Regions from separate parts of the Homo sapiens genome. Here regions 1 and 2 are each linked to region 3. Evidence: promoter capture Hi-C in 16 types of primary human blood cells and fetal thymus (Javierre and others, 2016). All regions are on one chromosome and are shown on one strand. The core of a region is centred on a gene start or on the middle of the fragment in contact, and the rest is flanking DNA. Distances in the headings are between cores, read along the strand shown. Region 1 has its middle 120 kb from the start of SIM1-AS1. Region 2 has its middle 100 kb from the start of SIM1-AS1. Region 3 holds the start of SIM1 (SIM bHLH transcription factor 1).

Region 1 (2,700 bases), core at 165-2,664, 190 kb before region 3:
GAAGAAAAAAATAAACATAAGTAAAGTGAATTATAAATATGCAAGAAAGTAATAAGTGCTATAAAAAAAAATAGGACCCAGTGATTCATGTCTTCAATCCCAGCACTTTCGGAGGCCGAGTTGGGATACTTGTTTGTGGCCAGGAGTTCAATACTAGTCCAGATATAAAAAACGAGGCCTCGTCTCTACAAAAAATTAGCCAAGCAAGGTAGCCACAAGGTAGTACACTCCAGCCTGACAGGGTGACACTAGCTCTTGTAACCATGATTAACCACCAACATTAACCTTGTTCATTCCCTCAAAAGTATGGTATTGAAAGGGTCCATGTAATTTTAAACTTTCTTTTCCTGCAAAAGAATTTCCTTATTTTGGGGGGGAAATTTTATGAGCATTTATCTCCACTTTTAATTGTCTCCTCTGAGAAGTCGAAGTATTGGAACTTGGGCTATTTGCAAGAAGGCTCTTAGCTATTTTACACTTGAACCACTGGAAAGATAAAGTCTGTCATCAGCCACAGTATCTTCCCAGAACAGAGACATGAGGTTAACACCCATGGGCCTACCAGTTACCCTGACATGCAAGCTTGTCTGAATTCCATATAATGAATTTGAAGTGAGCTTTTAAGGTGACTGCTGCACAGGGCCTAGGTCATTTCTAGGTGAAAGTACCAAAGAGATGGAGACAGAGGCACTCACCCGTCCACAGTTACCAGATTGTGAATGTCAGTTCTTAAGCAAAAGGAAAGCGTCTGAAGACTCAGAGAAATTCATTCTGGTCAAATTTGTGGATTTTTTTTTCCATACATTTATTTTTAAAAATCATAATTCTGGGATTCTGAAGCCATCCTCACCATTTTTTAGGCTCTGGGGTGGAATGGGGGAGATGTATAAACACACGTATTTATTTGTCTGTTTTTAAAATTCAGTTTGTTTATTGTTATTTAAAAAACAAAACAGTAAACAGAAAACTGGGTGCTCATCCCAGCTCTTACCTCTAATTTCTGATATCTTAAGTAACTCTGAATCTCTGAATCTCAATTTCTCAGCAGTAATAACAAGTCAATATCCTACCTACACTGAAATCTTGATGTACAAATAAATGAGAAATCCTGGAAAAGCTCTGCAAAAACTACAATATGAATGTATAGTATTCTAATAATTAAATCTTCACCATAACACTCCACAAATACTCCCCAGTTAAATGGGCTCTTGAGGACTTGCAGGGGCAGCCAGTAACCAATCCACCTTATTTTTCTAGTTAAAAAAAAGTTTTAAAAGTTATTTTCATTTAATTATTTCATTTTTTCTTTTAATTTGAATTAGTCATAAGATCTTAAAAAAAAGTACAGTCATATACTGCATAATAACATTTTAGTCAACGATAGACCGTGTATACAGTAGTAGTCCCTTAAGATTACAATGGAGCTTAAAAAAGGATGAGTTCATGTCCTTTGTAGGGAAATGGATGAAGCTGGAAACCATCATTCTGAGCACACTATCGCAAGGACAGAAAACCAAACACCGCATGTTCTCACTCATAGGTGGGAATTGAACAATGAGAACACTTGGACACAGAGTGGGGAACATCACACACCAGGACCTGCCGTGGGGTAGGGGGAGGGGAGAGGGATAGCATTAGGAGAAATACCTAATGTAAATGACGAGTTAATGGGTGCAGCACGCTAACATGGCACATGTATACATATATAACAAAGCTGCACATTGTGCACATGTACCCTAGAACTTAAAGTATAATAAAAAAAAAAGATTATAATGGAGCCGAAAAATTCCTATCTCTTAGTGACCTCATAGCCATTATAACACTGTAGCACACTTATTGTGAGTGTAACTCACTAGAGGACGCTGGTGTAAACAAATCTACTGCCCTGACAGTCATATAAAAGTCTAGCACATACAATTTTGTGTAGTACATAATACTTGATCATAATAATAAACAACTATGTTACTAATTTATGTATTTACTATATTATCCATTTGTCATTATTTTAAAGTGTACTCCTTCTACTTGGAAAACAAAAAGAATGAACTGTAAAACAGCCTCAGGCTGGTCCTTCAGGAGATATTCCAGAAGAAGTCTTTCTTATCATAGGAGATGACAGCTCTATGTGTGTTAGTTAACTCTGAAGACCTTCCAGTGGGACAAGATGTGGAGGTAGAAGACAGTGTTATTAATGATCTTGACCCTGTGCAGGCCTAGGCTAATTGTGTGTTTTATTAAAAATAGAAAAAAGCTTATAAAATATAAAGCTTTTTATAGGATATAAAGAAAAAAATATTTTTGCACAGTTGAAATGTGTTTGGGTTTTAAGCTAAGTATTATAGGAGTCAAAAAGTTAAAAAAAATTTAAAACATTTGTAAAGAAAAATTGTTACAGTAAGCTCAGGTTAATTATTATTGAAGAAATAACATTTTTAATAAATTTAGTATAGCCTGATTGTACAGTGTTTATAAAGTCTACAGTAATGTAGAGTAAGGTCCTATGCCTTCATGTTCACTCAGCACTCACTCACTGGCTCACTCAGAGCAATTTCCAGTCCTGCAAGCTCCATTCATGGTAAGTGCCCTATACAGGTGTAACATTTTTTATATTACATTTTTATTTACATTTTGTATGTTTAGATACACAAATACTTACCATGGTGTTACAATTTTCTACAGTATTCAGTACAGTCACATGCT
Region 2 (2,700 bases), core at 17-2,516, 180 kb before region 3:
TGCTAAGCCTGTATCTGGAAGAACTACCCATTTGTTGAGATGGTAATTGTTTTAACTTTGATGTCCTTCACTCTGCACATCTGTTTCAGCTCTTCTACCAGACACACTCACAAATTTATCATCTCTGCATGTGTTCCTACGTTAGGACTGCCTCAGTGGCAGAGTACAACAGTAAATTCCACGGATGTATTAAGTTTGTTAAGCAGGAAAGTAACTGGCTTTGTGGCCAGGATTTCTTATGACTCTGTCTCAAGACATGCTATAAAGGTTATCTGAGAAAATATTCTTGGATTCATCCATAAAGGACAGTATATATTACCTGGCCAATTCACAGTTACAGAATGATGAGGTACCAATATAGCAGTATTGTTACCTGATCTTACAACCTACAACAGCAGAAGTGGTTCTTTCTTAGTTACACAGCTTATTTTGTTGTCATCAAGCAAATTTTTCATTTCTTTCTGCCTAGAAGTCTAGGCCTTTTCTGCTATACCAAATTGCTTCCCTAAAACATTGGGTTCAAACCCTGGCCGTATTATTACTTATGTAGCCTTAGACAGCATACAGTTTTCTTATTTGTAAAATGGGCATAAAATAATACGAATCCCTCAAAGCTTTGTTGAGAATCCAGGGAACACATAACATAATAGTGTCTGATGTGCTTTATAAAACATGTTGATATGCATGACTCAGAGCTTATTTGGCTTTTATTGTATGTAGTGATATTTGAAGAGTAATAATTTAATCCACAGTAGAGATGAGTTCAGGCAATAGTAAGCTATATTTTAAAATGCTTTAGTTGTTCTTTAGAAAAGAGGATGACTTTTACAATATCTTATATAATCAAACTAGCTCTTAAATCTCAGACAGCGGGCGTTGCCCATGTAGTGGGACAGAGGCCTTTGCCTACTTTAGGCAGGAATAATGCTGGTACTAACATATTATATATTGTCTATATCAACTCCTTCTAAATACTTTTAGATGAAGTGTCTAAGAAATAAATTATGTCCATGTTGAGCTCTTAAACTTTTAGATATTTAAGGTTCCCTTTATTTCTGTTCATTTCTTACAACTATCCATGTAGGAGTAGCTCCCTCATATACCTCTCAAGCCTGAATCCCACTCTAGAAATTCAGAGTCCCATTTCTGATTCTATAGGACAATGTCCCCATAGGTCCCAGTGATTCCCCAAGTCAACATTTCCCCCCCACCAGTCCTTCCCCCAAAGACTTTTCATTAAAAAAATAATTGGATGTCTATGACATGAAACTTATATGGTATACAAGTTTGCATGCTGAGGGTCAGTCTAATAAAACAGCATTCTCACTAGGGGCATACAATGAAAAAGCAGAATCTTTGTTGTTAAAAATAATGAAAATTATTAGAAGAGTATAAGATTAAAAATTGTTCCTCCCTAATCCCACTATCCAGAGTTCATCATGTTTATCATGTTTTTCTTTTTGGATGCTTCTTATATTTTTAAGGTATTTTAAATACATATATGCATATAGAAATATTTTCTAATTTTTAAAAATTGAATGTTTTTCTATAGTTTGTATGCTTTCACTCACTATATTGTAGATATCTCTTCATGTTGGTGAATGTAGATACAGCTGTATTATTTGTATAATAGCTGAATCATAGTGTACCCAGTCTGCTACTGACAGGCATGTCAGTTGTTTTAGTGTTTTGCTGACAATGCTGAATGCTGCATGCCGTATAGACATCTCAGAACACTTACAGGGAATCATTCTGTGTGATAAATTCCTAAAACTACAATTACAGATGGAAGGATATGTGTATTTTTATCTTTACAAATACTGTCAAATTGCCTTGTAAAGAGTTTGTGCCGATTTATATTCCTTGAAACAATGTATGACCCCTTGTTTGCCCAAATACTAGCCAATACTCAGTATCATCAAGCTTTTAAACTTTTGTTTATTTGATAGAAAAAAATTAAAAGTACATTATTATTATTTTAATTTGAATGATTGCTATTGAGATTAAATACTTTTTCAATTGTTTGTAGCTTACTTATTCTTATTCAGTGACTTGCCACTTCATCTCCTTTCCCATGATCTGGGTGGCTTAATTATTTCTTCTGTATTGCTAGTAACTCTGGATTTATTATTTTTGTTAATACTCTAATTACTTGGCTAACACTTTTGTTAATTTATTATTTTTGTTAATCTGAGATACAGATTAGATAAATAGAAGCATAGATAAATTTATAGGTAGATAGATGATAGATTTATCATCTGTCATCAAATAGAGAAAGAAAAAGAAAGAGAAAGAAAGAGAGAAGGAAGAGAGGAAGAAAGAAAAGAGAGAGAGAAAAAAAGAGAGAGACAGAAAGAAATATTTTCTCACAGTTGTTTTTTAAATGTGTATGTATTGCTGCCTTTCCCATACAGAAGTTTTTAATTTTTAAGTAATAAAAACTGCCAGGTTTTTTTTATGGTTTCTAAATCTCATTTCTTACTGAGAAAAATCCTCCCCATACTAAGCTTATAAAAAATTCTACTCTGATTTTTCTAATAGTATTAGAGAAGTATTTTTTAGCTTTTTGATCTTTATTTGTTTTGCTAAAAGTTTTACTAAGTGCCTGAATACATAACCTGATTAACAAAGCACAATGTGAAATTTGCTTTTTTTGTAAATAAAATATGATTTTTGCAAATAATCTCACTAATTCCATAT
Region 3 (2,809 bases), core at 47-2,546:
GCAGTAAAAGACCAGCGGGGGTGAACGGAAAATATGTTCTTTGAAAATTCGGGATGCAGTATAGGAAAGTTGCTGATCCACCGAATTTGGGCGATCCACCGAATTTGGGCAATCCTGAGGGTCGTTCAGGGTATCAAATGCCAGTGGGACCCCTGAGGAGCCAGCCTTTTCTTCTACTGCCAGCTGCGAACCCTGGTCCTCGGAAAATCGACATAATAATCCCTGACGTTTGCTCTTCAGTCTCGCGGCATTTAAGGTATCTCCGAGCCCCTTTGGGAAGAGCAGGAACCCCAGACAACTCTTTCAAGGCCCTGTGAAGACAACAGCATCAGAGCATAAGAGATCAGCGGCTCCACAAGTACTCACACACTCGTCCCAATTCCAAAAACACGGCCGGAAAGGGCCTCAGTGCGCCTAGCCAGGCGTTTTGGGTTTGTTTTTAAAGAAACGGGTAAATCGGCAGCGAGACAGCCCCCTGCAAATAATGCTGGCATTCCCTCACCCATGCCAGCCGCATCCTCCAGACCCCTGGGAAGTTGCCCAAACAACAAAATACATATTTCTGAAGACCCGCAAGGGATCTTCCGCCGCGGATCCCCGAGTCCGCGCCCAGGCCGGGCGCACGTCCCAGGAAAGCAGGTTTCCGCAAATCAGAATTCCTCCAAGGCGAGGCAGGGGCCTTTCAGCTCCCTACCTTGGCAGATCTGGACCTTGGCTACCTCTTTAACTTGGGTCTCAAGTCTGAGGGATTCCTCAAAAAGTGACACTTACACACCAAGTCTCTCGGGACTCCCAAGGCGACCCAGCGCTCTGGCTGCCCAGCAGGGGCTGCAACAAGCGGGGCCCAGCAGCGCCAGGTTAACAGGTGGCGCGCTCGCGACAGCCCCTCGCAGGCTCCCCCGGGGGTGGGAGGCGCCGCGGCCTCTCCCACACCACCGCGGAGCTGCGGGGCTGCTGGGCGGGCGCGGGGCGTCTTCTGCTTCACCTACCTTCAGTCCCCACAAGCGGCAGAGGTTTCGGGGGCGCCCATCTCTTAACTGTTCTCATGCCTACCGTCCAACCCAGCGACACCGCCGGCCTCTCCGCTTCCCACCGGCAGAGAGGAGCAGAGCATTCCCGGCTCCCTTTTCTGGATCATGAATTGGAGGAGGGGTGCGTGGCAGAAAGAGGAGGATGCAAGCTTTGGGACGAGTGAGGTGATTTTAGAATCCTGGTCCTCCGTAGTTGCTACGAAGCCAGTTCACTATTATTCCTAATTGGAAGCCGAAAACTGCCCCCCGTAACTTCTTTATAGCTTAAGGGTTTAGCTTCAACTTCACTCCGGGGCCGCCTCTCTCCCGCCCTCCCTCAATGCCACTCACAAGCCCCCTCGCCTCCCATTGGCCTGGCGCGGCCAGGGGCGAGGCGCTCATTGGCCAATAGGGCTGAGTGACACGAGTCGGCCCCGAGCCGCCCTCCGCGCGCCCAGGCTCCGGGCTCTGAATCTTACTACCCGCGGGACCGCTGGACTCCTAATGAGCTCAGGGTGCCGGGTCGGCGCTGTCCGGTTGCCGCCGCTGCTCGCGGCCTCCTGGGCCTTCCCGACGTCGTGCGCGACCCGCGCTCCTCGAGCTCCCTGGGGTCGGGTGGTTGAGCGCTCAGTCCAGCGCGGCGGCCCAGCAGAACCGGGAACGTCCGGAGGCAGCGGAGGTCGGGCCTGCGGGTTAGGTCTACCGGCGGAGGAGGCAGGGTTCGCCCAAAGGCCCATCCCGCTGGCAGTCGCTGGCCGACGGCGTGCGCGAGGCCGGTTTGGGGAGTTATTTTCTCTTTCTCGTTTCTCTGAAACCATGGCGACACGGAATTCATTGCCAGAGGAAATAAATACAATAACTGTCTTTAAATTAATCCCAAAGAAGTGCGTCTTTTTCGAAATGGCTTGGGTTTGGGGCTGATTTTTTTCACCGTGGAAACTCGGCCGGGGAGTTTTCCTATGGGGAGCAGCTAGGGGGACACTAGGGGAAAAGCTTACATTTCAGGGCAAAATAGAATGATTGATATAGAGATACATAGCTCCCAACAGTCCTTTATCTTAAACATTAGCCAACTCTTTGTCGGGTTTTGTTTCAGGAAACAAAAGTCCAACATGATTATTCCTTACAGAAAGGATACAGTCTACATGAATGAACTTAACGATGCTCGCGGTTCCCTAATAGGAGCTGTTTAAACAAACGCTCACCAGGACTCTTGCTGACTAATTATCTTTTAGAGACCCTCTAATTTGAACCGCCTTCTCTTTCTCTCATCTGAGAAAACACAACAGGTAGCATCAAGAAAAAGTCAAATTGTCCCAAAAACAATTGTTGTCCTCACGAATCACCCCCTACAGACTCGACTCCCGGCTTGGTTTTGGTACGCCGGTGACCAGATTCGGCTCCTAGAGGTGCGTTTGGAGGGAGTTGTTTCATCTACCATAAAAATCAGTGAGAACACCAGTGACGGGGCACTCATCCTCTCGTTTGTGGCGCTAATTGCCACTGAGAAAATAAATACTTTGAAGAGGGGTGTGTGCCATTCTGCTGATATTCAGAACAACTTTAAGAGTGTTTGTTCAAAAATACAGACATCTGCCACCTCCTTGCCGCCCGATGGCAGTAAGATAGTCGTAGAAGGACAACAGCAGCTTTCTGGTGTTATTTACATATCTGGGCAACACCTGGCTGGAGGAGGTGAAAGTTTTGGATAGAAAGAAAAAGAAAGAAGCACGGAGATTTTGTAGGTCTTTCAAAACTGGAATCCAGCTAATGGACTCTAATCTAGGAGGAGTCATTTC

What was found. The method cuts DNA at HindIII sites, captures the fragments that hold promoters and counts their contacts. A CHiCAGO score of 5 or more calls a contact.
Region 1: a fragment that was not itself captured here is called in contact with the fragment with the promoter of SIM1 in region 3 in 1 of 17 cell types (endothelial precursors); the score reaches 7.0 in endothelial precursors.
Region 2: a contact is called between a fragment that was not itself captured here and the fragment with the promoter of SIM1 in region 3, in 1 of 17 cell types (endothelial precursors). The highest score is 8.2, in endothelial precursors.

What each region holds. Positions count from the first base shown.
Region 1 is chr6:100,271,290-100,273,989 of GRCh38, forward strand. No RefSeq gene overlaps it. Among named protein-coding and RNA genes, the nearest start is that of SIM1-AS1, 120 kb to the right of the region's middle. The HindIII fragment of the contact is 1,669 bases long and covers 581-2,249 here.
Region 2 is chr6:100,287,803-100,290,502 of GRCh38, forward strand. No RefSeq gene overlaps it. Among named protein-coding and RNA genes, the nearest start is that of SIM1-AS1, 100 kb to the right of the region's middle. The HindIII fragment of the contact is 1,309 bases long and covers 613-1,921 here.
Region 3 is chr6:100,463,625-100,466,433 of GRCh38, forward strand. It overlaps SIM1 (SIM bHLH transcription factor 1), which reads right to left and starts at 1,297. Exons shown (of 12, transcript NM_005068.3): 1 at 990-1,297; 2 at 1-311. The HindIII fragment of the contact is 823 bases long and covers 1,179-2,001 here.